6 separate regions of the Homo sapiens genome follow, and regions 2, 3, 4, 5 and 6 are each linked to region 1. Evidence: promoter capture Hi-C in 16 types of primary human blood cells and fetal thymus (Javierre and others, 2016). All regions are on one chromosome and are shown on one strand. Each heading gives the region's core, a stretch centred on a gene start or on the middle of the fragment in contact. The rest is flanking DNA. Distances are from core to core; before and after follow the strand shown. Region 1 holds the start of TBC1D15 (TBC1 domain family member 15). Region 2 overlaps ATXN7L3B (ataxin 7 like 3B). Region 3 overlaps CPSF6 (cleavage and polyadenylation specific factor 6). Region 4 overlaps YEATS4 (YEATS domain containing 4). Region 5 overlaps FRS2 (fibroblast growth factor receptor substrate 2). Region 6 overlaps RAB3IP (RAB3A interacting protein).

Region 1 (5,071 bases), core at 1,259-3,758:
GCCCAGGGTGGAGTGCAGTGGCATGATCTTGGCTCACGGCAACCTCCACCTCTGCCTCCCAGGTTCAAGTGATTCTCCTGGCTCAGCCTCCTGAGCAGCTGGGACTACAGGCATGCACCAACACGCCAGGCTAATTTTTGTATTTTTAGAAGAGACAGGGTTTTACCATGTTGGCCAGGCTGGTCTTGAACTGCTGGCCTCAAGTAATCCGCTTGCCTTGGCCTCCCAAAGTGCTGGGATTACACGCATGAGCCACCGTGCCCAGTTAGATTCTGCATTTCTAACAAGCTTTCAACTGATGCTGGTGCTGCTGGTCTGTACACATACACTTTGAGTAGTAAAGGCTTATACTTTTTTGATGTATGATTAGCTCACTCAAGTCAGAAGTCCAGTGGCAGTGGACACAGGGACTAGAGTTTAGGAAAGAGAGACTTGGGCTGGGAATATTTGGGAGTCATCAGTACATAGGAGATTTTGATGCCAGAATATGAGGATAACGGCCCAGGAATAGTGTTTGGAGAAAAAGGAAGAGAGGCCCAAGGCCAGCCCATGGGTAGCGCCATTATTTAAGGCACACTTGTAGGATGAAATTTAAGAAGGTCAAGAAGTAGCAGATGAACCTGAGATGCCAATGATGCTTTTCAATGAGAAGCCTGTAGTTCTCAAACTTATATTTTAAAATATAAGTAATAACTACATTTATTGAGCCTTTTATTCCTGGCACTGTGCTAAGGGCTTCAAATTTTCTCTAAAACACAGGGTGTAAGAAATGTGATGTCACATTAAAATTTTTCTCTAACCACATCCCAATGCTCTGAGCTGGTGGAAAATGTAATTTGGGTCATCAGTAGGATTTTCCACTCCACACCCAAGATTATATGAAGGTTCTAGGGGTCTTAGTCTCAGTCCAGTACATTTGGAAAAGGCCCTCTAGTCTTCACTCAATGCTGATTACTGCTAATATTCTCATTTTCCCACCTCATTCATCCCTTGTAGGTGAGCTGCTTTCTTGATTCCCTGCCAAGCTTGGGCATAAGGGTCTTGGTCATGGTTGGAATCTCAGATACCTAGCACGCAATCTCCCTAATATGCTACGCATTCATTCCCACCTAAGGTTCCACCACTTTCCTCACCTATTAGGTTCCTGGTAGTCACATAACCGGCAACTCTCCTTTTCTGTCGTTCAGCTAGTTGCCACCTACCTCAACCAAACTCAAAAGCCTCTAACCCCTCTCCACTGTGTGAAGACGGAAGTACCTCAATGGACACAAGTGTTTTTGGTGAAAGGGACTTTTTATTCTGCCCCGGAGCTAGGGAAATCCCAGATCTGTGCCAGAGTTATCAAGGGGGTAGTATATAATCATTCTCTGCATTCTTTTACAGCACTGAGAACAAGTAAAATTCTTACCTTAGTATCTTTACAAATCATTTTACCACACATGTATTGTCGTATGAAATCCCTACAACCACTCCATGCAGGAGTAATTCCCAGTTTACATCCTGAAGCTCTGATAAATTTAGAAACCTGCTTTAAGTCACAGAGCTAATAAGTAATGTGTAGGTGCTATAAACTATGTGCCTTGGGCTCTGCAGCTATGAGGGCGTGGTATTATCACAGTTCCTATCGAAATACCTTGCTGGAGGTCATGTGTGAGTGGCAGTGACCAGACAAATAGAGAAACCTCATATACAGAGGGGAAAAGTCTCCATGTATAGTGCCTGGGATATCTCCATGTTAGTGCTGCTCTTTCTTGGATCTTCACCGCAACGCCACTATCTTGATTTTACTATAAGAAACTGAGGTTTCGAGTGCACTGGTGATTTGCCTACTGCCACAAAACCAGGCTAATGGGCTGGGCGCGGTGGCTCAAGCCTGTAATCCCAGCTCTCTGGGCAAAGGCTGAAGCGGACGGATCACCTGAAGTCAGGAGTTCGAGACCAGCCTGGGCAACATTGGCGAAATCTCGTCTCTAATAAAAATTTAAAAATTAGCTGGGCGTTTGACGCGCGCCTGTAATCCCAGCTACCCGGGAGGCTGAGGCTTGAGAATCGCTTGAACCGAGTGGCGGAGGCTGCAATGAGCCGAGATCGCGCCACTGCACTCCAGCCTGAGCGACAGAGCGAGACTCCTTTTCTACAACAACAACAAAAAACCAGGACAAATCTTGCTGGCTTCCAGTATGGTATTCGTTTCATCTCACCAAACTGGCGTGGCCTGCGCTAGCTTCAGAGTCTCGACAAACTCCAATACAAGTAAGGTACACATTATTTTAGCAGTCTTCCTTGGGGAGGACGTGGGGCAAGCACAAGCGTAGCGTTAGGCCTGAGACTCCACCCCAGCCGTCTCTGAGCCCAGTTCAGCACGCACGCGTCAGGCGGCTTTTTTCCGCCCGGCTCCTTTCCTCCACTCCCTTCCCGCCACTCCCCGCCCTTTTCCCGCCCGGATGTTATTCTAGTTTTGCCGGATGTTGTTGTATGTCCGAGAGACACGTGAGGTTCTGCTACGTCATTACCAGGCACGCGCAGGAAACATGGCGGCGGCGGGTGTTGTGAGCGGGAAGGTAGGTAACGGCCTCCAGGAAGACCTCGGCTTTTCTCTGGGACGGGGATGCTTTTGCTCCCTGGCAGCTGGTTGGGGGAGGGACACGAGGGACTTTCTGTGTCCGGACAACCCGTGGCGTCTGTAGGAGAAGACTGGGTGGTACCAGCTGGTTTCCCGAGAATGCCAGTTCAGCCGCGGAGTTATAGAGCCGGCTACTGCTCCAAGGCCAGCTAGGCCTCGGCGCTCTTCTGCCCCAGAGCAGAGAGGCTTTTATTCGTATTACCTTTACTAAGGGACAGGTGGCTCTCTAGTTCCTTTTTTCCCCCGATTCACTGTTTCTTGACTCTAGTTCTTTATGTCTACTCTTCTGACTCCAGCGTCTTTTCTCTCTTTGAAGCGTTAACCCGACTTGCCTCTGTCTTCTTTGCTACAGTTTGGTGAAGATGTTTATGCTTCCTTCGGGAGGAGCTGAATAGATGCTAGGCAGCTAGCTGTGCGCTTAGAAGAAACGAGTGTATTGGGTCTGTTTTTACCAAGCTGCTGAGTTGGTTGGTGGTTGTGAGCAGCAGGACGTGTTTCCTGAGAGAAATGGAGATTTACACCATCCTGTGCTTGTCTAGGAAGGCGTCCAAATATTTATTTCCTAGGCATTTCAGTAGGAGTATTGGTCATGCTGGTTTACGGAGGTGGTCAGTGACACGCCTAATTTCGTTGGAAACTAGAATTACGTGCGGAGATTTCGTCGAATAGTGCCTATTCGCGTTCCGAGGGCACATCTTATGCATAGTTAGGGCTATCAGCTTTATGATATGCCACCGATAGTATTTCCCAGTGCAGGAGTATTTCATAAACAGCTGGAATCAACTGAAGTGACTCATCGAACACTAATGGTTGTTTACTCATTGCAGATAGCGTCCTCTGTTCCTTGAGTTTCACTCATGTCTCCCTGTTGCTTTCCCTACCCCATTTTGAATTATTTGACAGCGTTTGTGGTTTGGTGTTTGGAGTATTAGACTAGGCGGCTGAATGACAAATATGGGCTTGGTTTTGCTGTTAATCTGAAGTATGACCTTGGAAAATTGGGCAATTGTGACTTTTGTCTTTTCGCGTTCTTTATCTGTAGAATGGAGGAGATGCCAATCATTATTTCTTGTATTGGAGTTGTTAGGGTTATATAAATTTTTTTTTAAAAAAACATAAAATTACACACTTGTACCTACTGGCTCTTTTAAAGGATAGGTGGGCATCCTTTTTTGGATTATTCGTGCTCCTTGGTTGTCTTGTCAGTTTTTTTCTTTTTATATTCAGGGTGGATGCTGATATACTGCTTGACTTACTGCGTATTTGAAGATTATCCTGTTTGATTTTCCATCTAAACTGATCCAGGCTGGGACTTTTCAAGAGGGGATCCCTTCCGTTTAAACATCTCCCTCTTTCAGGTTTGGATTGATTTTGAAAGAATCCTTGAGGCAATGAAGCAGAGTTGTGAAATGAAAAACATTTTTCACTCTTTGCAGCCACTACCTTTCATAGTCTGACTTCTTAAAGTGAGACTTATATTTAGTAATTCTGCTTCATAACCTCATTTATTCTCATTCACTGCAAATTCACATCTATTGCCATCACTCCACTGAAACTAGTTTTCCATGCCAAAAGCTGCTCCTCTCCCAAGTAATACTATCATGACCAACAAAACCCACTTGTTCTTCTCTCAGTAAGTTCAGATCTGGTTTAATGGCATCATCTTTCACCTGGTTGCATGTTAAACATACTTGGAGGCATTCATTCCTATAACACTCTCTAATCAATAACCATGTCCTACCAGTTTTACCTTAAGAGGTTTCTTAAATTTACTGCATCTTCTTTACTATCAGCGCATAGTTCAGGCTTTTAGTCTGCTTCTATTCTTGATTTCTTGGCTGATTTTACTCCTTTTCTACAGTCTCTGCCCTTAATCTTCTCTACACCACCACTGGAGTTATTTTTCTAATGCGCAAACCTGATAATCTCTTGATTTAAAAAGCAAATGAAAACTCTTCACTTTTTTATCGTCAGCATAATAATAATAATAATGAAAGCTGGTTAATGTAACATAAAAAGACATGATACCTTTATGCTTCCCTACTTCCTAATCTTTTTTCTTTAGGAAAGGGGATGGGGAGAAAATGTGTGTGTGTGTTTATTTATTCATCTCCCCTCTCCCTTCAAGTTTTAGCTAAGAGTTCTAGTTTAGAAATCCAGGGGAGTGAATGTTAACCAAGGCTCACAAAAATCACTCGTGATACTTTTTAATAAAAGTACAGATGGTGGGCTACCAGCTCTGTTGAATTAGAGTCTCTCAGTGTCTCCACCTAGGATGTAACTTTTCTTAAAACTCTACTTGCTTTGAACTTGGAGTTTCGGAAAGTGATGGAGGAAGTTAATCTCTGTCTTGTAGGGAAGCAGCAAAAGGTAATGGTTAAGAGCTTGGTCTCTGAAACCAAACTAGTTTCAGAAATTATCTCCACACATTTACAAGCGACTTCAGTA
Region 2 (5,071 bases), core at 886-3,385, 2.7 Mb after region 1:
CTACACCAGTTACTATACTTATTAATGAATACTTGGAAGCACTCCCTTTAAAAGCAGGAATGGAAGAAACAAAATTTTTACTGTTCTAAGATGATATTTACATGAACAATTTTATAGAATCTAGAAACAGTTGTTCTCAGATGACATCTACATCTACATGGATAATTTTATAGAATCTACAAACATACCATTGAAAGTAGTGAGAAAATTTAGCACAGTTACTGGATATAAGATCAATATCTAAAATCAGAATACCAACATTTAAAAAGTGTTATTAAATTTAGAATGTAATTCAACAAGTTATAACAGTCCTATGAAATAATATCACAAGAACTGTGTAAGATTTTATAAAGAAAATAATATTTTCTAATATGTTGGGAAAATCCCAAGTAAATGGAGAGAAGATGTTCACGCACAGAAAATGCAATCAATATCATTGCTCCAAATTATGTGAATCGGAAGCAATCTGTATTACAATCCAAATAGATGTGCTCATGGAACTTGACAAATTAATTTTAAGATTTATATGAACACCAGATGCTAGAATAGACAAGATCTTTTTGACAGATGTATATTTTAGTTTTGGTGCAGAAACAATGGAATAGAATAGAGTTTAGAATTAGATCGAAACACACAGATTACACGTTTATGTCTTGATGTGTGGTTAAATTTGTATTATAATCAGTGGAATATAAACCAGTATTGTGGAACAGATTATCCATAAATAATAAAACTGTGCTCAGACACAAAATTAATTCCTATATGGATTAAAGATTTAATGTGTAAAAGTAAAAAATGTCAAATCTTTCTAGAAAAATATAGGAGGATGTGTTCATAATTGTGTATAAGGGGAAAATTTCTTAAAAGTACAAAACATAGAGAAAAGATTGATGTGTTCGACCATAATAAAAATAGAACTTTCTGTTCATTAAATCATACTAGAAACAAACAAACCAATAACCTGATGTGCTAGTTGTTTAGTTCTTATAACTGATTAAAGATTACTAACAAAATAGTTGTACAATTGCCAAATGTATAAAGTAAAAGAACAGCTCATTCTTACAAAAAGAAATATGAATGGCCAAAAAGTTGTAAAAGTTCCCTTAGGTTCAAAGAAATGCAAACTAAAAACAAAATACCAATTTACCCTACTCAGTATGATTAAATTTTTTTAAATGGTGATGACATCAACTCTGAAAGGCATATGGAGCAATTAAAACACTTAAACTGCTAGTAGGCTGTAAATTGGTAAAAAATGTTTTTAAAAGCAATTTAGAAATACCTGTTGTGGTTGAAGACAAAAGTAACCAATATCCCAATATTTCCACCTGTTGCAGCATTATATGTAATAGGGAAAAATTGAAAGTAATATACCCATTTGGAATACATATAGTCACTATACTGAAGTGAGAATAAATTAACCAGAGCTGTACAAATAAAATAGTAAACCTATGTTCTTATACTTTGTTGCCTTTCTTTTGATGTTTAACAATAGGCAAATCAATGCTGTATGTTGTTTAAATAATTGTGAATATGAAATAAAAACTATACCAAAAATATTGGATGAGACTTCCACTTTCATGGTTATGTTCCTGTAGATAGCAGACTAATTGATATAGGACATCAGTATGCTAAGTAAATTGAGGTAAAGATACTCTTAAATGCATTACTGTGTTCCCAAGGAAGTGAAGGAAATACCCAGAATACCCAGGTCTTTCTTCTAACGCACACACACCCCAAAGATACAAATGAAAACAGAAAAGGAGAGTGCACTGAGGAAAATATAGATACCATATGATACTGGGAGATTAGACCCTGATCATCACAAATTGAAACTGTAAATGCAAGATGCCTGAAATAAAGTTTATATCCTTGGTGAAAGGATGGGCAGAGTAAAACTAGATAGATTGATAAATGATTGATTAATGGGTGGACAGATAAGAGAAACCTTCATTACTTTAGAGAGAACAGATGAAAAAGAAAGACTCTGCTATTGCCTGAGGTGAAATGAATTGACTAAAATAATAACAGTCATGCCATTATCATCAACATTTACTTTGGGAATGTGTACCCATACACTTGGTTTCACATAGCTACCCTACCCTGCCAGTCAGAGAAACTTTGACCTGAGAATTTCATAATGTATTGAAAATGATATTGTACCTCTTGGCTACCTGACAAAATTTTGTTCCTTCAACATTTTCACAAAATATAAGTTTGCAATAAAAGAAGCATCTGTTTCTTTAAAGATTTCATTTATAGCCATCATACTTTTTATCTAATAAATCTGTTTACAAGAAAGGAATTCTAACTCTATAGTTTATTATTTCTGCTGACTATATATAATTAGAACTTTCTCAGAATTATTAGATACAGAATATGGCCTTAAATGAAATCTGTACATTAGTAGATGGAATTTTAAACGAGCAAAGAACAGGAGAAAATAATGCAGTTTTAAAAATTAAAGTAATAGAAATAAAAGTGCAAAGAATGTATTCCAAAAAAATTTAACGTCATTGTATAGGTAAAATCTCAGTTTAATCAAGCTGGAAAAAGAGAAGGAATGAATCAGAATGAAGCAGTTCATGCACAGCAGAGTAGTTGTGTTGCCTCGTCTCCCAGTGATAAACTTACATGCTATTTTTTAAATAAAATAGATAATCAAAAAGTGAAAGTGCAGCAAAGAAAAAAAGTGATAACACTTGAATTGCAATTGAATGTAATTAGAAGATGGCTGATCTTCAGAATGGTGACACAACATTCTAGAGGCCCAAGATATACAGCCAGAAGAACTCAGTCAATGAGAACATTGGCCGTAATGAAAAAGAATGAAGATGTTTCAGAAGAAACAAAGCTGTCAATAAACGACATTAGGTGTTATGTCAGATATTTCAAGATACTGAAAGTGCAAAAGGTAAGTTGTGGCCGGGCGCGGTGGCTCACGCCTGTAATCTCAGCACTTTGGGAGGTCGAGGTGGACAGATCACTTGAAGTCAGGAATTTAAGACCAGCCTGGCCAACATACCAAATACAAAATACGATGTAAAAATACAAAAATTAGCCAGGCTTGGTGGTGAGTGCCTGTAATCCCAGCTACTTGGGAGGCTGAGGCAGGAGAATCACTTGAACCTGGGAGATGGAGGTTGCAGTGAGCTGGGATCGTACCACTGCACTCCAGCCTGGGCGACAGAGTGAGACTCAGTCTCAAGTATGCTAAGGAGAATTCTAGATTCCTGTCCCCTGGTTATTCAACCAAATAGTAATCTGCTGTGAAAGGATTTTGCAGATGTAATTAAAGTCCCAAGTCAGTTGACCTTAACATGTGGTGATTATGTAGGTGGTCTTGACCCAATCACATAAGCACTTCAAAATCAGAGTTTTCTTCATCTAGTAGTGGAAGAAGACAGATTTTAAGTGTGGGAAAGATTCAGTGCACCATGGCTTGCTTTGAAGATGGACTGGGCCACATGAGAGGAATGTGGCTGCATCTAGGAGCTAAGAGTGGCCTCCAGTTTACAGATAGCAAAGAAATGGGGATATCAGACCTAAGGCAATAATAGGTTGTGGATTGCATTCTGCAAAAAACGAACAAACAAAACCCTGAATGAGCTTGGAAGCAGATTCTTTGCCAGAGCATCCAGATAAGAGCCCAAACTAGCTAACACTTCGTTGTCAGCCTTGTAAGACCCTTAGCACAAAGCTCAGCCTAGCAGACTGTGACTTTAGAACTAGAGAACTGTGAGAAAATAAAGGAAGGTTTTAAGAAGCTAAGTTTGTGATGTCATTATACAACAATAAAAACCTAATACAGTCATAAGCTGATCCAGATTTAGGAGTATGTCAGTTCACCAAGGCACAGAAAAGGTGCTTGCTCTATATCTTGATTTACATATGAGAATATGAGAAGAAGGATAGCAACGTTCAAACTATTCTTCTTCTTTTTTTTTTTTTTTTTTTTTTTTGTGTGTGTGTGACAGAGTTTAGCTCTGTCACCCAGGCTGGAGTGAAGTGGCATGATCCCGGCTTACTGCAACCTCCATCTCCCGGGTTCAAGTGATTCTTCTGCCTCAGCCTCACCAGCTGGGATTACAGGCACATGTCATCATGCCCGGCTAATTTTTGTATTTTTAGTAGAGAGAGGGTTCCACAATGTTGGCCAGGCTGATCCCGAACCCCTGCCTGGCCTCAAGTGATCCACCCGCCTGGGCCTCCCAAAGTGCTGAGATTACAGGCATGAGCCATTGCGCTCGGTCAGTTCAAACTATTCTTGATAAATTTTGTACAAATAAAATACATTTATTCTCAATGTTTCTAATGTTTAAAATCACAGTGTATGTAAATACTGCTTTTACTATTCTTTTATTTCCCTGTACATTCATCACGTTTATCATGTTTATTAATAAGAAAGTTTCCAATATTGCAACAATATTATTTTTGTTGCAATATTGTCACCAAATGATCTTAATTATTCCTATTTATTATTAACATTGCTTTGCACAATTTTGGTTTGCATGATCATTTTTATAGTCCCTCACACCGTGCAAAACTAGGGCTGACTATGTCACTATTATTTATTTTCTTAAATATTTCAAGAGATATTAATACTGTATCTCTTCTGTTGAATTAATTCCAAGTAAAAAAAAATAGCAGTCAAGTAAACAGTACTTTCCAGGGATAACTTGGGAGGTTTAGCTTAAAACACAAAACATATAAGTCTCCCAGATAGCACTGACAGAAGAAGAAAAATAAGGAAAGCAGTTGGTAGCAAAAGGAAAGAAGAATATAGACTAAATAGGGCATAGTTAACCAAGAATCAAGAAGAGGAGAAAGGTAGTAAGTATCTGCATTAATGAAAAATCTAAGTGAATTACGTGAATGAGAAAAAATACAAAGTATAAGAAGAAGGAAAAAGTTTGTAGGCATCATACTCAAATATATGCATTCTAATCTTCATCCTTTCATTTATTACTAGAGTGAATTTGGGAAGGTAAGTTATTTTTTATGAACTTCAACTTCATAATAATGGAGATAGCAATATACCTCACAGTGTTATGTGACCTACTGCATGTAA
Region 3 (5,071 bases), core at 939-3,438, 2.6 Mb before region 1:
GGCCGGGAAGCTGACCCGGGGCCCGCTGCGGCCGCGAGCCGAAGCGACTGCAGAGTGTGCGCCCTTGCCGCCTCTGGGCCGCGCCGCCGACCCCTGGCGTGGCGCCCCCCCGCCCCTCGTTCTACCGCGTCGTTTCACGGGCCGCGGGCGCGGCGAGTCGCCGCGGGGCCCGGAGCGCGGACGCGGGCCGCTGTGCAGCTGCCGCCGGCTCCTCCCTCGCCGGCGCTGCCTCGCTCCCTATTGTTGGCGGCACCCGGCTGGCGCTTCCCGCCGCGCTAGGCCCGGGCGGTGGGGCCGCGTGTAAGCGGCGGAGAGAACTGGCCGCCGCCGCGCCCCCTCCCCCGTCGCTGGTCGGAGGAGGAAGCCCTGGCGGGGCGCGTGCCCGCCGCCGCCGCCCCTTCCCCGCCGCTGCCGCTCGGGCTCCGATTCCTCCCATCGCTCCATTTTGTCTCCCTGCCCGCGCACTGTCGCCTCATGGAAGGCCGCGTTCACGGCCCTTTGTATCCCGCGCGCCCAGTCCCCGGGGCTCTCCTTCTCGGGTTTGCGACAGGTTTCGGCGTGGCGCCTTCCTCCTCCCCTCACACTTTCTGAAGGCGACTGAGGTGCGGGCTCATTTGCAACAAGTCCTTTGACTTTTGGAGCCACAGATAAAAGTCGGTGCGCTGGTCCTGCCTCATTAATCCAGGGCTTGCAGTGCTTTGAAGCCCAGTCGTTGTTGGCCTTTGTGATGAAAATACCTGTGAAGATGAGTGGCCGGGGACCAAAAGGAAGAATTGGAAGCGCGATGGTTGGATGGAACAAAAAGATGTTAGCTCACCCACAGATCTCATAGTGATTAAAATGAAAGAACGTTCACCCCAAATCCTTATGATGTGGTTTAAAAATAAAGAGTTATAGATAAGACCCTATTTTCGAAAACAAAGTGTTAAATCCCCCCACCCCCACCCCCGGGCCCCGTGTTACCTTTTGAAAGGTTGAGCGAAAGTGAGAATGCAAGGTTTTCCTGAACGACGTTGCTTAGAGGTAACGCGGGGCTGTGATGTCTGTTAATGGGCATCCTTGCAAAAGATGTCGTTTGTTGCTAGTGACGTTTAAGGTTTGAACCTGCTGTTCGTATCTACTGCATTTTATGTAGTAACACATTTAAAACAATTAAATTGTGCTTAACTGCAATGTTCCTAAAAGCCTTATTTTTTTGTATTTCCCAGGTCCCTATGAGAAGTTTAATGAAATATTACTGGCTAATGTGGTTTTCCCACCTCCATTAACCATCATATTCGTGACTAGTTGCTCAGGCTTTTTAAAAAACAAGGAAACTCAAGAGATCTTTACTGTTTTATTTTTCAGGAATGACTTTGTGCCTCTGGTTTAAATATTAGAAAACAGAAAAATACCAGTTGGCTTTAAATGTTTGCTATTCAGTTAAAGACTGGATTTGTTTAAATGTAATACATTGTAATCAAAGGTTAAGTTTTTAAATCTTTGTGTTTTTAAAATTGTGCTTATGTTTTAAATAATAATACTTGAGTTGTGTCCATTACAAATCAGATACATTCCTCGAGTGCAACACAGGTTCTAACGCTTATAAGACCTCTAGGAAATTTTTTTCCTTTTATTTATCAAATGAATATAACTGCGTTTAAAAGAGGGCTGTAACTGCAAGGAACAACGATTGAGTGTTCAAGACTGCCTTTATTAGCTTTACTTACAAGATAATACATTGGTTCACCTTTCTATGCACAATAAAAGAAGAATTGGGTCTCAATTTTAGAAGTTAAGCTTTTTTCAGTACCTCTTAATGAAATATTTTTAGGCTTTTGCATACTTAATTTGAGAGGGACATCTCCCTTATCCGGATAGCTGGGTGGATTCTTATCCCTGTGCAGTAGCAAGTGCTGACTGGGCAGGAGGTAAAAAGAGATTAGTTTTGTGGACCCAATGAGGAACTCCTTTTAAATGTAAGTTTTCAATGATTTGTATAAGGTACCTACTGCATTACGTCTAACACAGTTGTATAATTTTACCAGTAAAATCTTTATATGTTTGAATAGATTAATGGCGAGGATAAATAGAGGCATTGTTTTTGCTACTTTGCATATCATTGGCCAATCAATGATTGATTGATTTGTATATCCTTTTACATTACCGCTTCTTGCTGTGGTAGTTTCTGTACCAAAAAAAAAAAAAAGGTCACAAAAGGATAGTTGGTTATTTTCAGAGCTTATCTTGTTTTTAAAAATATGTTACTGTCATTGAAATATTTTTCCAAAATCTTACCAGAATTAGAGGCAACCACAAAATAATTTACAACTGATTTAATCTTTACTAGCTGGCGACCTTATTTCTACTAGTTGCTATAGTAGACTAGAACTCTTGTTTTATTGTCGTTGAGTAAAATACTAAATAGTAGCCAGTTTTGACTTACTTTGGCTTCAAAGCTGTTGTAAACATTAAAAAAAAAATCTTTGTTTTCCAGTGTAAACTGCAGTTCTCATTGGATTTGTATACTTTGAAATTCGGGATAGTCTTTATTTCCATTTTCTACTATTTTTTGTCTGTATCCTGCTGAGTCTTCTATTTTAAATGTCATACTTTTATGAAGCTTTTTTGTATTTTGGTAAGGCACAGTATTATTTCAAAAAGTGATTTGCATCTATTGAAGTAGAAAAAAGTGAGGCATTCAACAGTCTTAGCAGAAACTAATTTGGGGATAGATTGAGAATAATAAATTAGTGAAGCTCTAATAGAGTGCCTTTCTTCACCAGGTGAACTTAAGAATGGAGAATGAAGGGGGGAGGAGGCACAAGGGACTGGCTACTCCTTATGGGTTCTCTTTAGTTCTTAGAGGTCTTTGGATGTCACCAAGCTGAGAACAGCTGGAAGGGGAATTTGAACATCTTCCAAACCTCTCTATTACTTGAAGTTGAGAAGAAAGTGATTCTGTCTCACAGTAGCATATCAATTCAGTTTAAACTGCATTTATACTCAAGTGTAGTAATTACTAGCCCAATATTTAGTAATTGTAGATTTTAAAATTCTGGCCAAAACTAAATAATTTAAAAGTTGAATTGTTTAGCGCGAGTGTGGTGGCTCATGCCTGTAATCCCAGCACTTTGGGAGGCCAAGGTGGGCAGATCGCTTGAGGTCAGGAGTTGCAGACCAGCCTGGCCAACATGGTGAAACCCCATCTCTATCAAAATACAAAAATTGGCCGAGTATGGTGGTGCCTGCCTGTAATCCCAGCTAATCAGTAAGCTAAGCAGGAGAATCGCTTGAACCTGGGAGGCAGAGGTTGCAGTGAGCCAAGATCGGGCCACTGCACTCCAGCAAGACCCTGTCTCAAAAAAAAAAGATTGAATTGTTCAAAATACATTTGTTGAGTGTCTGTTATGTGCCAACAACGAGGGATACAAAGTTTAGGTAGTCTCTACCCTTAGAGTACACTGTAGGGGAGCTGAGAGATACCTACATACAGTAGTGCACACGTATCCACAGTTCCACTTTCTGTGGTTTCAGTTACCCGTGGTTCTGAGGTCTGAAAATATTACATACAATAAGGTAGTTTGAGAGATACTATATTTAGCTAACTTTTATGACAGTAAACTGTTCTACAATCATGTGTCGCTTCACGATGGCGGTATGTTCTGAGAAGTCCATCTTAGGTGCTTTTGTCATTTGTGATCATAGAGTGCTTTTGCATTTCAAACCTGGAAGGTACAGCCTACTACACATGTAGGCTATATGGTGTAGCCTGTTGCTCCTAGGCTACAAACTTGTACAACATATTACTGTACTGAATACTGTAGGCAGTTGTAACACAGTGGTATTTGTGTATCTAATATATCTAAACAGAAAAGGTAAGTGAAAATCTTGATATAAAAGATAAAAAGTGGCACACTTGTGTAGGGCACTCATGAAAGGAACCTGCATGATTGGAAGTTGCTCTGGGAGAGTCAGCAAGTGAGTGGTGGGTGAATGTGAAGATCTGGGACATGCTGCTGTAGACTTCATAAACACTGTACAGTACACTCAGGCTACACTAAATTTATTTAAACTTTTTTCTTCAATAATACATGAGCTTACTGTAATGTTTTCACTTGATTGATTATTTTCTCACTGTCATCCAGTCTGGAGTGCGGTGGTGCAGTTGTGGCTCACTGCAGCCTTTATCTCCCAGGCTCAAGCAGTCCTCCTGTCTTAGTCTCCAGAGCAGCTGAGACTACAGGCATGTGCCACCATGCCTGGCTAATTTCAAATTTTTTTTGTAGGGATGAGGTCCCAGCTAGTCTCCAGCTCCTGGGCTCAAGCTGTCTTCTTGCTTTGACCTACCAGTGTTGGGATTACAGGCGTGAGCCACTGTGACTGGCCCGTTTTTACTTTATAAATTTGGACTCTTCAATAATAACAGTTTAAAATACAAACACATTGTGTAACTATATAAAATATTTTCTTTATATCCTTATACTGTAAACTTACTTCTTTTTTTTGTTTTGTTTTGTTTTGAGATGGAGTCTCGCTTTGTCACCCAGGCTGAAGTGCAGTGGCGCGATCTTGGCTCACCGCAACCTCTGCCTCCTGGGTTCAAGCAGTTCTCCTGCCTCAGCTGGGATTACAGGCACTCACCACCATGCCTGCCTAATTATTGTATTTTTAGTAAGAGACGAGGTTTCACATGTTGGCCAGGCTGGTCTCGAACTCGTGACCTCAAGTGATCCTCTTGCCTTGGCTTCCCAAAGCGCTGGGATTACAGGCATGAGTCACCACACTGGGCCTAAACTTTTTTCTATTAAATTTTTTTTTTTAACTTTTAAAATTAATTTTATTTTAGAAGAGACAAGGTCTTACTGTGTTGCACAGGTCTCAAACTCCTGGCCTCATGTGATCCTCTTGCCTCAGCCTCCCAAAGGAGGCTGGAATTACAGGCATGAACGACTGAACCTGGTCTTTTTTTTTTTAAGCTTTTTTTAAAAACTAAGATATACACACATTAACCTAGGCCTGCACAGGGTCAGGATTATCAATATCACTGTCTTCCATCTCTGCATCTTGTCCCACTGGAAAGGTCTTCAGG
Region 4 (5,071 bases), core at 1,869-4,368, 2.5 Mb before region 1:
ATGGCAGAAAATTCTCTTTTAAAATTCAAGTGCTCACATTTTTCTGTTTTTGACAAAACTATCATTTATTTATGTATAACAAGTAGTTATAAATAATATGTTTTGTGAAAAGGCTATAAATCTGTTTCAATGTGTTAAATCTTACGTATGGAGCTGTATAACCTTGGGAAGTTTTTATCAATAAATTAAGTTTTCTGTGTGATCTTTAGTTCATTTTCTTAACAGTACCAAATCAATAAGGAAGAAAAGTCTAATTCCATAAATGGTGTTGGCATAATTGGTAAGCTTTTGGGAAGAAAACTTAATTTTGATCATCACTTCATAGTACTTACCAAAACAAATTCCAGTTTAGTTAAAGATATTTAAATGTTTTTTTGAAAATCAGCCAGCCTGTTTTTTGAAAAATTAGATTACTGGCTATCCTGGCTAGGAAGGACTTTCCAAATTTAAAGTGTTAGGAAAAATCACATTAAAATAAGGATAGACTTTATTAAGTATATTTAATTTCTGCATTTCCAAAAGGCAAAGAAGAAAAGTTTGCAGAAAATATGGCAAAGAATTAATGTTTTTTTAAATGCTAAAATTGATAAATAGAAAAACCTGTTAAACCTCAGTAGATAAATGGGCAGAAGGTATGGACAGACAGATAGAATAAGAGATCACCAGTAAATAAAATGATAAAATATCTGGCCCTGCTAATAATTTTAAAAATGCAAACCAAACAGTAGTGAATGACTATATTTGTCCTATTAAATTAGCAAAAGCATTTTTTTTTCCCCTAGAGACAGGTTCTCGCTCTGTCACTCAGGCTGGGTTGCAGTGTCATGATCGTAGCTCACTGTAGCCTCAAACTTGGGGGCTCACATGATCCTCCTGCCTTGGCCCCCTAACAGTAGCTAGGACTACAGGTATGTGCCACCATGTCTGGCTAATTTTTTTTTTTTTTGTAGGGGCAGGTTTCTCCACCTCAGACTCCTAAAGTACTGGTATTACAGGCATGAATCACCATGCCAGCCAGGAATTTTAAATAGTTGTACCGATTAAGAGTAAACTTTGCACTCTCATGAATTGTTTTGTGAGTATAAATTTAGCTCTTTAGGAAAGCTATCTGGGAATATTAATCAAAGGTCTAAAAAATATGTATAGTTTTAATAATCTGAGGGCATATGATAGTCAATATTTAGTAATAATAAAATGCCAGACTTATTCAGTGCTTACTATTTGTATTCTTCTGAGTCTGTACATGTATAAACTCACTTAATTCTATAACAGCTTTATTAGGTAATATTTAGAAAAGGAAACCGAGGTATAAGGAGGTTAAGAAACTTGCCCAGGGTCACACAGCTAGTTAGTAGTAGAATCAGAACTTGATCCCTGGCAGTCCTCAGAACTTAGGCTCCAAAAATTTAATAGTATTTTTATAGAGAGAATATTTATTATGGAGTATATTGGAAGTTTAAGCACTAATGATCTAGCTTTTTAGTTGCTTCTTCAAGAAATAGTAAAAATGATAGTGAACACTTAGTGAGAGCTTACTATGTACCTGACAAGCACTTTCCATTTCTTAACTTATTTAATACTCTAAAATAACCCTAGGAGGAAGATACTATGATTAGCACCATTTTGTAGGTAAAAGCTCTAGAAAGATTTGATAACTTGCCCAAAATTACCCAGTAGAGCCTGCATTTTAAACCCAAAATCTGTCCACTTAACTAATAAGTTGTAAAAAGCCTGATAGTCTGTCTCCTAACCAGTATGCTGAACTGACTTTATAAAAGTAGTAATTCTTTGGATTTGTTTTCTCGAAATTGAGCTTCATTGGGAAATTAAAAACAGAAACTTTTCTTTTTTTGTATAAGCATTTAACACATAGGAAGCAGAACACTGGAACAAGCTAAAAGAAGTTTTAAAATGTTTTCCCCCAGGATCTCATTGCTAATTAACTCATGTCTTCTTCCAAACATCTAGTGCCCTTCGCAGTCTTACAAGTTGTCAAAAATAAAAGTATCATGAATCAAACAACAAATCTATGTTATATCTACAGTGAATGCTGTCCTTCTGACAATTGAGTTAATCAGGTCTCCCTGGCTAGTTTTAAAACTACCGCTTACAGCTATACAGGACTCCTTGTCTTTATGCTGCTTCCTGGGCCTGTATGCCCACTTCATTTACCTAACTCCTTTCTCATTGTTTAAAATTCAGTTTAGATGTTACTACTACCAAGAAGCCCTCCTTCATAAAACTCACCCTTTCTACTTGATTTGAATCCAGTCTACTCTTGTCGTTCCCTATGATTACCTCATAACATTAGTGCATTTTTTTCTTACCTGTTTCCTGCCTCTGTACCCCAGCATCTAACAAAGCGCATATCATTCAGTGTGTTTTTTAAATTGATGTGGGGAGAGAGGGTATAGGGGAATACAAATTTCTGCATAGTAAAAAGCACTGGGAACAAAGTCTAAAGACTGACAGGCCATAGAAAAATGTACTCATGTCACAAATGACTAGTTTCTTAACATACAGTAGTCCCCCTTTATCTGGAGAGGACACATTCCAAGAACCCCAGTGGATGCCTAAAACTACAGATAGTACCAAGCCCTATATACTGTTTTTTCCTATACATATATACCTATGATAAAGTTTAATTTATAAATTAGGCACAATAAAAGATTAACAACACTAATTAATAAAATAGAACATTATAACAATGAACTCTAATAAAAGTTATGTAAATGTGTGCTCTTTCCCCACCCCACCCCCCAAAAAAATCTTATTCTACTTTTTACTCACCTATTTTCAGACCGCTATTGACAGTGGCTAACTGTAAGCATGGAAAATGAAACCATGGATGAGGGGGGACTACTGTATAAAGCTGTATATAGCTCTTACAAATCAATAAGAAAGGCCAATAACCCAATAGGAAAATGAGCAAAAGGAAAACAGATCATTTGTAGAAAGGGAGAAATGTCTCAAACATTATAAAAAAGATGAGTCAGCCCCAATAGTAATAAGATGAATGCGAATTACAGAAATACTGTTTTTAACCTTTCAGGTTAGGTAAGACCAAAAAGTTGATGCAGTAGGGAAACAGACACAATGCTAATGGGATTATAAATTGGTAGATCCTTTTGAGTTGCTTGATGTTCTTCCAGAATTACAAGTACATATATATTCTATAACAGTTCCATTTCCAGGAATTTATCCTACAAATATACTAAAATGATTATTTACAGCATACACATTATTGCATTGTTTGTAAAAGAAAAAAATGGAGATACTCTGAGTGTACATCAATAGGGGGCAGACTAAATGAATTTTATTTATCCATTCAATTAGGTCCTCTGTAGTCATTAAAAAGAATGAGACAGCTCTGTGTTATAGGGTGAGCTTCCAGATATAATGTTAAGTGAAACAGCAAGGTGCAAAACAATGTGTATAGAATGATACCACTTGTGTTGGGAAGAAGAAGAAACTGCACTTGGGTATATGCTTTGTATATCAGCAGACTATTTCTGGGAAGATATCAGAGAACACAACAGTGATTATCTCTGGGAAGAAGCACTGATTGGTCATGGCAGGCTGGGGAACAAGTGTAGTAGAAGGGCATATTTTTTCACTGTCTACTCTTTAATCTTTTAATTTGTAATCTTGTGTGTACTACCTATGTATAAAAATAATTTGTAAAAGAATGAAAAGAATTACAAAGTAAAATATGAATTGTTTTGACAATCACAAAAAGCAAGTCACCAGCAATGAGCAAAATAAGGAAAGAACTCATTAATATTCATTGAATTTTTTTATTTTTTTTATTTTTATTTTTTTTTTTTGAGGCAGAGTCTCGCGCTGTCGCCCAGGCTGGATGGAGTGCAGGGCGCGATCTCGGCTCACTGCAAGCTCCGCCTCCTGCGTTCACGCCATTCTCCCGCCTCAGCCTCACGCGTAGCTGGGACTACAAGTGCTCGCCACCATGCCCAGCTAATTTTTTGTATTTTTAGTAGAGACAGGGTTTTACCGTGTATTGCATGTTTTTTATGTGCTAGATGCTTTACATATAATTACTTCATGTAATCTTCGTAAATCCTCTGAGAAATACCTAGTTTTAGCTGTATCGTACAAAGAGATTGATGGAGCCTTAGAAATGTTAGCATTCGGCTAATAAGGAAGCAAGGGTTTATTTGAAATCAGATCTTTTCTGTTTCCATAGTTGGGTTTTTTTCCCACCAAACCATCTGGCTTCCAATTAGTGACCATCTTTTATTAGTGAAAGTAAGTATAAGTGTACTTTAATAGTGAGCAGCAGTTACCAAAAATGTCCACAAGATGGAAATGTTAGACACAAGCAGATATTTTTCTTTGTAAAACATCATGCTACATATCCAAGTGGCATATTTAAATAGATGTGTCCTGTTTTGCAGTAACATTTCTTTAGTACTTTGTTATAGATAGATAGTTTCAGATATCACTTAATGTTTCTCTTTTCTCATAACAATAGTTGATAGGGCTTTTTCTGTACCAGGCAGTATTCTGGGTACTTTACATAAATTAATTCATTAAGTCTTCTCAACAGGCTGGGTGTGGTGGCTCACACCTGTAATCCCAGCTGCTTGGGAAGCTGAGGTGGGATAATCACTTGAACCCGGGAGTGAGAGTTTGCAGTGAGCCAAGATCACACCACTGCACTCCAGCCTGGGTGACAGAGTAAGATCCTGTCTCAAAAGTTTTCTCAACAAATAATATTATGAAGTATTTGCCATTATCATTTCTGTTTCATAAGTGAGGAACATAGGTGAAATAGCTTACAGTGTCACAGCTAGTAAGTGGCAGAGCTGGGATTCAAATTTTAGCAGTTATTGCCACCTATTTGAAAAAAAGATATTGGCTTGTATTGATAGTGTGATTTTGTTTATAAGTTTCACCTGGGCCGGGCCTGGTGGCTTATGCCTGTAATCCCCGCACTTTGGGAGGCTAAGGAGGGCGGATTGCCTGAGCTCAGGAGTTCGCAGTCAGCCTGGGCAACACGGTGAAACCCCGTCTCTACTAAAATACAAAAAATTAGCCGGGCATGGCAGCA
Region 5 (5,071 bases), core at 1,873-4,372, 2.3 Mb before region 1:
ATATTTCTCTAATAAAAAGACATAAGTGATACTGTACTATGCATACATTGTATCTTAATGCTGTTTCAGATCAGCATTTTAAATTTTGGTTTGCATTTTTAATATTGGCAAAACGTAACCACTGTTAATTAAAATAAAACCTTGTTGTATATGTAACAACATAATTTTCCCTCTATCCCTTCCCACCCTTTGTTCTCTATTTCTCCCTATCAGTGCCAACTTCATACATTTTGTAGCATGGCAATAAAATATAACTTTTACACTGAGGCCGAGTGTGGCTTTTTGGAGGAAGTGGGGATGGGACGATTGCCCTCTAGTTGTCCTTTGCATATGACTGTTTTTTGCCATATAAGCCATGTCATCAGGCATGAAAAGTTTTCTCATATATGATGTAAACTTGCTTTTAAGGACAAGTGTGAATGTGCTTTTTAAGCTTAATTTTTGTCATGACAACTAATTTTTTTTATCTTTGGAGAAGTCAGAGTTCTTTACAATCAAACGTTTATTAACTGGAGTACTTAGAATAAGCTAGTAATTGAATTTAGTTCAAGGGCTAAGCAACACATTTTTAAATCCTTATTTATTGTAGAGTATTAGTATACTGTCCTACAAATTATGTAAAATATGGTTTAATATTAGATGACTTTGGATTTTGCAATGCCTTACTGTTGTCATTCTAGCATAAATATCCATAATGAGGTACTCAAGTTGATACTGGAAGCTGAGCTGATCATACACTGACCTGAAGCATTCATGAAAAGCTGCTTTATTGAATAAAGTCTGATTGGAGTTCTTTTCATGCTCACTTTCCCCTTATTGCTGAAAGTAGATTGCAATAAAACCCCAATAAAACGTTTGGTCGGATATCTACTTAAAAGTTTTATTGTATTTATATTTCACATACTACTTGAAACTTTGTGACATTTTCTTTCCTAGTCTCATATCACTGCCTCCATTTTCAAAATGAAGATATCAAAATGAAATTGTAACTATATGACAGGCTTTCTCACAGTTTTAGCTGTGTGATCATTCCAAATAGTAGTTCTCAGCTCTGGGACTTCAAACCTGTTTTTAGCCACTGAGTGACATTGCAAAGCCTTAGTTGAGTACAGGTCAAGATGGAAATTATTTAAACAATGAAGGAGATGGACATGTCCACAAGTGATTGATGTAACTGGCATGATAAAGACACACACAAAGGAAGGGCATCCAACTCAGCCTAGGGGTGGAGGTTTTCAAGCAAAGCTTCTTAGAGGGGGTGATCCCTGAGGTGGTTTGTTGAAAGTCTTTGTAGCTTAGAGAGGATGTCTTAGGGAGAAGGGATAGCATGTGCAAAGGCACAGAGGTATAGAAAGATCATGACATTCAGTGGTTGCAAGAGGTTCCAAATGACTAAGCGCATGGAGAGCAAAGGCAGGGTTGGGGGATACAGAAGAAAGGAGAAATGAGAAACAGATCACAGAATCCTAAGGAGCTTTTGTTTAAATTAGGTGAGAGAACTTGAAGGATTTTAAACACCAGAAAAATAATAGTTTAGAAAGATTTCTCTGACAACATGGATACGTGAAGGGCGCAGTATTTTTTTTTTTTTTTTTTTTTTTTTTTTTGAGACGGAGTCTCTCCCTGTTGCCCAGGCTGGATGGAGTGCAGTGGCGCCATCTCGGCTCACTGCAAGCTCCCCCTCCCAGGTTCATGCCATTCTCCTGGCTCTGCCTCCCAAGTAGCTGGCCCTACGGTATTTTAATAAAGCAGGGAGACTGGTTGAGAGGCTTTTTCAGAAATGGAGCCAGATCTGATAAATCCGTATTCAAAGGCATTGTTAAAGGACTGTTTAGATTGTTTACTGCTGTGCAACAAACCACCCTAAAAGTTAGTGGCTTAAAGCAGCAATCATTTAATGTCTCAAGTTGCTATAGATCGAGATGGGCAGGGCACAGCAGAGATGGCTCATCTCACATGATGTCTGGAGGCCTGGCTTCCTCATATGCTTTGTGCCTATGCTAGTATGATTCAAGCAGCTGAGGGCTGGCTGGACCAGTTCCACTAGGTTATGTCTGGAACTTAAAGCTCTCAGCTGTGTTCCTTAGTTTTCTTCCATGAAGTCTTGGGTCTTTCTTCATGTGGTCTTCTTACATGGCAGCTTAGGGTTCCCAAGAGCACAAAAGTAGATGCTGCTAGGCTTTCTTGAGGCCTAAGCCCAGAACTGGCACAATGTCAATTCTGTTGTATTTTGTTGAATTACAGTGGCTCATATAAAAGCATGAACATCAAAAGTGTAGTTTATTCAGGGCCACCAATGTAATAGAGGGCCTAAAGGAGGAAGAATTAACACCTCTGATTGATAAGGGGAATGACAGAAATGGAGGGGTCAAGGATGACCCCCAGTTATCTGGTTTGGGTGACTGAGATGGTTGATGGTGTCAGTTCATTGAGATTTAAGATATATTTGGGGGCTGGGCATGGTGGCTCATGCCCGTAATCCCAGCACTTTGGGAGGCTGTGGAGGGTGGATCACTTCAGCCCAGAAGTTTGAGACCAGCCTGGGCAACATGGTGAAAACCTGTTTCTATGAAAAAATACAAAAATCAACTGGCGTGGTGGTGTGTGCTTGTAGTCCCAGCTACTCAAGAGACTGAGGCAGGAGGATAGATTAAGCCTGGGAGGTTGAGGCTGCAATGAACTGTGATCCTGCCACTGTGGTCCAGCCTGGGCAACATAATGAGACCCTGTTTTTTTTTTTTTTAAAGTGCTCCTCTAAGTGTGCTCCACAGACTGATTCCTGTGTACAAACTATCACGGTCTGCAACAGGAGAAATATCAAGTCTTCTAACCTTCTCCCTACTACCCAAACAGTAGGTGTCTGGGTGGACCCAACTTAATGTGACTGTGGACTCCTGGTCCTTTATTTGGTTTCCTTCCCCAGGTATTCTAACTGTTCCTGAGGAATGTTGACAAGTCCCATAACTCTGTTCTGGTGGTTGTTTGCCACTTCGCCAGTTATTTCACTCCAGTTAATGAATCTACCCTTGCTCCCAAATCACCTCTAGCCATCAAATAATGATATGCTACAGTGCTTTCCTACTTCCATAACATGCCAAGCATATCCAACCTCGGCTACTATATTTATAAAGCCTATTAGAAGACTTGGGATATAATGATAACAATAGCTAAGCTAAACAGGCACTGTTCTAAGCTATTTAATCTGTGATAATTATCTCCATTTTACACAAAGGGAAATTGAGGCACAGAGAGATTATATAACTGGAAGCTGACCAGTTAACAAAAAGCCAATTCACTGAAAGCCAAATTATACCAAGGGGAAGAGAGAGGAGGACACAGGGTCATAGAGAGGAGAGGGTCACAAAGACTTTGAGGGAGGAGGAAGGGTTAACTAAGAGAAGCCAAGACCAAGGGACTTGAGAGTAGAGGACAGAAGATGAGCCAGGAGAAAGTCACACAACGTGTTTAATCACAGAAACATGGATTCCCAAGGTCTCACTATCTCCATAGGCCCTGTAACCTATCTAATACAAATTACGATAAAATGTATAAATAGATGGGCACAGTGGCTTCTGCCTGTAATTCCAGCACTTTGGGAGGCCAAGGTGGGCAGATCGCATGAATTCAGGAGTTCAAGACCAGCCTGAGAAACATGGCAAAATCCCGTCTCCACCAAAAATACAAAAAATTAGCTGGTGTGGTGGCGCATGCCTGTATTTCCAGCTACTCGGGAGACAGGTCGGAGGATCGCTTGAAGTCAGGAGGCAGAGGTTGCAGTGAGTGGAGATCACACCACTGCACTCCTGCCTGGGTGACAGAGTAAGACCCTGTCTCAATTAAAAAATATATATATAGGTGTGGTGGCTCATGCCTGTAATCCCAGCACTTTGGGAGACTGAGGTGGGCAGATTGCTTGAGGTCAGAAGTTCGAGACCACCCTGGCCAACATGGTTAAACCCTGTCTCTACTAAAAATACAAAAATTAGCCAGCTGTGGTGGTGCATGCCTGTAGTCCCAGCTATTTGGGAGGCTGAGGCAGGAGAATTGCTTGAACCCGGGAGGCGGAGGTTGCAGTGAGTTGAGATCATACCACTGCACTCCAGCCCGAGCGACAGAGTGAAACTCTGTTTCAACAACAACAACAACAACAAAAAAGTATAAACAGCTAAAAGAGACAGTTTTTGGTAAACCAGCACATTGATCACGCTCTGAATGGCCTTCAATGAACTGATTTAAAGAGCCTGTGAAACCCACCCAAGACTACAAAGCTAGTACGTAAAATGGTTGAAATTCAAACTCATATAGTCTGGGTCTAGAAGCTGAGTGTTTAGCCTCTAGGTGTAGAGGTGTCATCAAAGGAGGGGGAAGTAGGAAAGAAGGAAGGGTCAAAAGATGCAATGGAGAAAGGACACATTTCCAAGGGTCCCATCATAGAGTCTCTTCCTGGCTGCCTCTAGCCTCAGTTCCACAAGGTGGCAGGGCCTGCCTCCTTCTCCCCATCCAAATGCCTCTGGCTACATTCAAAGCCCAGCAGGGAGCAGTCATTGGTTTCCCCATCACACACAGTCTCAGGCTTGCCTACCAGAGGACATAATAAATATCTCCAGGTATGTAATTTTGCCCACAATAAAAACAACCTTTTTCAATATTGTGCAGGCATCTTAGTTTTTTATTGTGAATCTTCTCATTCCAGAATGCGATTTGGGATCTGCCTAGGAAAGTACATTTCCTGAAAGAAGACCAAATTTTCCTACAAAGAAGAGAAAACTCTTGGGAGATTTAAAATAACAATTTGTCCAGCCTGAACTCCCCTTTTCATGTTGGACCTGAGGAATACTGTAAACCAGGGTCAGCAAACTTTTTCTGTAAAGAATTAGATAATACATGTTTTAGGTTTTGTGGGCCCATTCAACCTGTCATGACTACTCAACTCTGCCACATAACTCTGCTATCGTATTGTGACAGAGTAAATATGTATGGGTATGCCCATGGATTCCAATGAAGCTTTATGGACACTGAAATATTAATTTCACAGGATTTTCATGTGTCAGGAAATTTTTGATTTCTTTCA
Region 6 (5,071 bases), core at 569-3,068, 2.1 Mb before region 1:
ATTCACCCATAAGAATTTAATGTGATCATCTTTTTTACATATTGGTCATGATCCTTGACAAGTTTAATTTACTAATTGGGATAATCAGTTGAAATTAGTTCTTTTTGAATCACTCATTGCTTAATGCGAAAGATACTACTGCTTAAAAATAGTAGTTTATTTTACTCTTATAAAGACGTATGTGAAATAAATCTTAAAGCTTCTATGTATTTAAAGGGCAAAAGATTTTCAGACCAGTGAGATTGGCAGCTCATTACCAGCTAAATTACATTTTATGGAAATTTTATGTGCTTGAAAAAGGGATTAAATTTAATCTCAAAATAATCTCCTTTTCAGAAGTGACTTGAATTTAGACAGTATTTAAATGTATCCCCCAGAAGGGAAACATTGTAGGTTAGAAGCACTGCTCAGAGGCATTGTCCTAAGTGCTATATAACAGGGGTCCCCAGTTCCTGGGCTGTGGACCTAAAGTGGTCTGTGGCCTGTTAAGAATTGGGCCACACAGCAGGAGGTAAGTGGCAGAAGGTAAGTGGCGGACAAGCGAGCATTCCCACTTGAGCTCCACCTCCTGTCAGATCAGCAAGCTGCATTAGATTCTCATAGGAGTGCGAACCGTATTGTGAACTGCACATTGCAAGGGATCTAGGTTGCATGCTTCTTAAGAGAATCTAATGCCTGATGATCTGAGGTGGAACAGTTTCATCCCGAAACCATCTCCTCCCACCCTCTGCCCTGTCTGTGGAAAAATTGTCTTCCACGAAACTGGTCCCTGGGGCCAAAAAGGTTGGGGACTGCTGTTATGTAGTATTATCCCTTTTAATTTTCATTCTGTTAGGTAGCAAAACCAAGACACAGATTTCCAGATGGGAGAACCTAGGCTCAGATTGTCTCAGTAATTTGACAGAAGTGGGATTCAAACCTGCCTCTCTTCGAGACTTGTACTTTATATTCATAGCTTGTGCTCCAGCTAATGGAGTAACTGCGTTTTGTATAAATGCTTTGCTTTCACATGGTGGACATGTCTGGAAAGCCCTTACAAAGGTTTTGTCTTTCTCATTTCTTGCTTGTTGTTTGGATCTTTCCTTTGGCTTTATTTTTTCGGGAATCCTTTGTCTCTGATTTATTTGTCCTTCCCGTGTGGTCTCTGAGTTTATTTGCATCTTCTGTGGCATTTATCACATATCATTGCCTCTACTTGTCAGTCTCCTACTCTAATAGGCTGTTTGAAGGCAGAGTAGATTTTTCTTCTTTCCCCAGATCCTGGCACAGAGTAGGTCATTAGTAAATACTTGCTGAAAGAATGGCTGAAATACTGTGTTTATATGTGGGAAAAATAGGGTTAATGTTGCAGGCATGATGGATTTTAATTCAAAACTAAGAGAAACATTTTCACTAGAACAGTGGAACAATGGAGTGGCAAAGCAGTTCTACTTGTAAGTGTGTCGTGGTGGTTAAGAGCTTGGACAGTAGGGTCTAATAACGGTAGGCTTTAATTCTGACTACTCTAAGCTGCAGTTTCCTCAACCATAGATGCGCTATGCTTAATATTTAGTAAGTGCTCAACGAATACTAGCTGTTATGGGAGGAGCCACCTTAACTTCCTGTGAGATTGGGGCTGGTAGTTGAATGACTTGGCTCCTTGGCTTCCCATTCCCTTCCTCTCTCCCTGGATTATTTTGAAGCAAATCCAAGTAATCTTATTTCATCTATAAATACTTCAGTGTGTATCTTTTTTAAAAGATAAGGATTTTAAAAATACAACCATTATGCCATTATTATCCCTAAAATTAACTATAATTCCTAATAACATAATTTGTTTTTACAGTTGGTTTATTCAAAGAAGAATCCAAACAAGGCCCACAGATTGTGTTTAGTTAATTCTCTTAAGTTTATAAATTCCCTCTACCTCGTTTTTTTTTTTTTTTTTTTTACAGTTTATTGGAAAAACCAAGTAGTTTGTTTATGATGAGAGTTTCCCAAAGTCTAGATTTTGCTGTTTTTGTCCCTGTGGTGTTATTTAACATGTTCCTTTCTCCTCTGTATTTACTATAAACTGATGACCATCAAGAGGCTTGTTTGATTTGGGGTCTTTCTTTTTTTTTTTTTTCTTAGGCCAGAATGCTTTATTAATGGCAGTGATGTTCATTTCTTATTTGCCACATAATATACATAATGTTTGATTGTCTCCGTTTTTGTGACAAGATGTGATCAGTGAGTTCAGGTACTGTCATTCTGATTGATTAACTATAAAGTTCCTCAAACAACCTTTTACCTTATGGTTTTAATAGCTATTTAAATAATTATTGCCCTAAATCCATTATTTCATTAGGATTCCAAAGTTATATTTATTAAGTGGAATTCTGCTAAAAAGAACTTTTTCTCATGAGCTGTTCAGTTCTTTGATATACAGGAAAGCCAGATAAAATACTTCATTCTTTCATTTTATTTACCAATTTTGAAAATAATGAATTGGTTCCATAGCATTGATCAGAGAAGGCCAGTGAGGTACTTTGCTTTATTTTTAGTGTCATTATGACCTCATGGATTTAAAAATATTTGCCTTTCAGTTCTTTGCAGATATTATCCTTTTTGATGTTCAGATTGTCCCGTTTTTGGTTAGTGGGAGTCCGTTTGATATCAGTCCAGTAGTTTTTGATGGTGTGCTTGCTTTCTGGTATAACAAGATGTTCCAGGGTCCTTTCGTACATTTCTGTCCCAGGCTGGAATCAGCCATTTTTCCCAAGGAGCCTGTGTTCTTTTTTTTGGAGGACATGGTATTACTCTGAGTACATGGGTGCGCATGGCTCCTGAGTTGGTCAGCGTTGCTATGCTGACCAACTTTTCATTGGATAAACTTAGAATTTTTTTTCTGGTGTTTCTGAGTAAAATTTAGGCCTCTAGGATTTAAATTCTTTGATTTTATATTTGTAGTTTTTCTAATATGCTGAAAATCTTAGTTCCAAATGACATTAGCATAACTTATTTGCTTCATCTTATAACAAAGTTTCAGAATCACAGTATCAATATTACTACTGTTATTAACATTGAAAATAGGTTGTGACTTTTTTCACTTCCTTTTGCTTTTAGAATACATTCCATTAGGGATATATATTTATGTTGTTATGTTTTAAAATCACTCGAAGTAGTTCTTTTCTGTGTGGTTAAGCTACCATCTCAGTACACAAGTTTATTTGCTTTATGTTTAGGGATTCTTTTTTAAACTTTAATTTTTACTGTTTACATGGTTCCAAGCTCAGAATCAAATCTGTAAAGCAAGGTACTTACAGAAAAAAGTCTAGCTTTCATATTTTTCACTCTGTCATCTCTCCTTCTATAGGTAACCATTTTGCCTGCTTTTTTTTCTTTTGTTCTTTTTTTTTTTTTTTTCAGGATAGGGTCTCGTTCTTTCACCCAGGCTGGAGTGCAGTGGTATAATCAAAGCTTACTGTACCCTCAAATTCCTCAGCTCAAGCCATCCTCCCATCTTAGCCTCCCAAGTGGTTAGGACTATAGGCCTGCACTATCACACCCAGCTAATTTTACAACTTTTTGTAGAGACAAGATCTCACTATGTTGCCCAGGCTAGTCTTTTAACTCTTGGCCACAATTGTCCTCCTGCTTCTGTGTGTCAAGTTTTTGGGATTACAAGTGTGAGCCACTGAACCTAGCCTTTCCATTAAAAAAAAATTATATATATATATTTATTTATTTTTATTCTCCTTTTTTAGATAAAAGGTAGTTTACTGTTATTTATCCTGTTTTTTATCTTACTGGTATATCTTCGATGTCACTTCATAGCGATACATGGATATGTATTTTACATCTGTGCAGTGCTTCATTATGAGGATGTACCCTGGTTCATTGAATCAGTTTTTTGCTATTACGAAGAGTGCTGTTGTCATGTTGCCAGTTTATCTTTAGGATAAAGCCCCAGGAGTGGCATGCTGGGTCACAGGTTTAATATCATTTTGAAGTTATTGCTAAATTTTCCTCCATAGGATTTGTACTATTTTGTATTTCCAGAAATGCAAATGCTTTTACGTTTTATGATTCAGTGAACCTTCAGGATATAAAGAGGTGAATTCATAGTATATGGGATAGAAGAAAGAATCATAAATAGTTACTGATTAAAATGTCAAAATTTAATGCAAACGTAATACAAAGGTTTTTTATGTTAATGAATTGGTTAGTGTACTTGCCTGAACTATATTCAAGTGAAAATGAATTATGTACTTTGAATATAGCAGTTTTCTTGGTATATGTGGGTATATGGATTATGAATAAAAAATGAAAATTCTTTTGGGTGAAAAAATAATAAATTTTAATGGAGTATTAAACACCTTACATTCCTTATTAATCTCATCTTTCATTTGGCATAGTGAATATTTTATGTGAAAAAAGCAAGGACTAGTTTCATTTTGAAGAATAAATCATTTGCTATTAGTAAACAGCTGATTGGATTTGAAATTTGTCATTTGTAGATTTAATTGTTGCACTTTGGGTTGTCTATATGCTGGAAAGTCTGTGACACATACTAATTTGTAATTTTGAAATGATACTGAGTCAGATCTCTTTCAACTTTGCTGAAATCTTTTTGTTTTTATTCTCTACTTGTATTAACACTTTTTATTAAGGATTTGAGAGTTAAATTTTTCAGCTAGTTTAACAAATGACTACTTCTGTATCTTATGGAAGAAATGATGTGCTATATTGTTTGGTTTGGCATTTTTTTTATTTTTATTTTTTGAGTTGGAATCTCAATCTGTCGCCCAGGCTGAAGTGCAGTGTCTCAGCTCATTGCCACCTCCTGGGTTCAAATGATTCTCCTGCCTCAGCCTTCCGAGATCTGGGATTATAGGCATGGGCCACCATGCCCAGCTAATTTTTGTATTTTTAGTAGAGACAGGGTTTCACCATGTTGGCCAGGCTGGTCTCGAACTTCTGATCTCAAGTAATCCACCCGCCTCGGCCTCCCAAAGTGCTGGGATTATAGGTATGAGCCACCAAGCCTGACCTGTTTGGCATTTTCTAAGTTCCGGGAAGATGTTATTCACAACTGTCAAAGTACTAT

Evidence for each region. Contacts are between HindIII fragments. The CHiCAGO score rates a contact against its expected background, and 5 or more counts as called.
Region 2: a contact is called between a fragment that was not itself captured here and the fragment with the promoter of TBC1D15 in region 1, in 1 of 17 cell types (total CD4 T cells). The highest score is 7.7, in total CD4 T cells.
Region 3: a contact is called between a fragment that was not itself captured here and the fragment with the promoter of TBC1D15 in region 1, in 3 of 17 cell types (activated CD4 T cells, non-activated CD4 T cells and total CD8 T cells). The highest score is 5.9, in activated CD4 T cells.
Region 4: a fragment that was not itself captured here is called in contact with the fragment with the promoter of TBC1D15 in region 1 in 1 of 17 cell types (neutrophils); the score reaches 6.5 in neutrophils.
Region 5: a contact is called between a fragment that was not itself captured here and the fragment with the promoter of TBC1D15 in region 1, in 6 of 17 cell types (activated CD4 T cells, total CD4 T cells, non-activated CD4 T cells and 3 more). The highest score is 8.0, in activated CD4 T cells.
Region 6: a contact is called between a fragment that was not itself captured here and the fragment with the promoter of TBC1D15 in region 1, in 1 of 17 cell types (naive CD8 T cells). The highest score is 5.4, in naive CD8 T cells.

The regions. Positions count from the first base shown.
Region 1 is chr12:71,837,251-71,842,321 of GRCh38, forward strand. TBC1D15 (TBC1 domain family member 15) reads left to right here and starts at 2,509. Exons shown (of 17, transcript NM_001146213.3): 1 at 2,509-2,561. The coding sequence starts at 2,532. The HindIII fragment of the contact is 6,842 bases long and covers 1,024-5,071 here.
Region 2 is chr12:74,543,872-74,548,942 of GRCh38, forward strand. ATXN7L3B (ataxin 7 like 3B) reads left to right here. Exons shown (of 1, transcript NM_001136262.2): 1 at 1-1,559. Among named protein-coding and RNA genes, the nearest start is that of ATXN7L3B, 8.6 kb to the left of the region's middle. The HindIII fragment of the contact is 7,760 bases long and covers 1-5,071 here.
Region 3 is chr12:69,239,752-69,244,822 of GRCh38, forward strand. All of the region lies in intron 1 of CPSF6 (cleavage and polyadenylation specific factor 6), which reads left to right. Among named protein-coding and RNA genes, the nearest start is that of CPSF6, 2.7 kb to the left of the region's middle. RefSeq lists silencers at 1-140, 291-510 and enhancers at 1-554, 555-1,134, 4,038-4,332. The HindIII fragment of the contact is 823 bases long and covers 1,778-2,600 here.
Region 4 is chr12:69,384,249-69,389,319 of GRCh38, forward strand. All of the region lies in intron 6 of YEATS4 (YEATS domain containing 4), which reads left to right. Among named protein-coding and RNA genes, the nearest start is that of YEATS4, 27 kb to the left of the region's middle. The HindIII fragment of the contact is 5,671 bases long and covers 284-5,071 here.
Region 5 is chr12:69,578,917-69,583,987 of GRCh38, forward strand. FRS2 (fibroblast growth factor receptor substrate 2) reads left to right here. Exons shown (of 9, transcript NM_001278356.2): 9 at 1-877. Among named protein-coding and RNA genes, the nearest start is that of MIR3913-2, 3.3 kb to the right of the region's middle. The HindIII fragment of the contact is 3,759 bases long and covers 1,244-5,002 here.
Region 6 is chr12:69,748,634-69,753,704 of GRCh38, forward strand. All of the region lies in intron 1 of RAB3IP (RAB3A interacting protein), which reads left to right. Among named protein-coding and RNA genes, the nearest start is that of RAB3IP, 12 kb to the left of the region's middle. The HindIII fragment of the contact is 3,242 bases long and covers 198-3,439 here.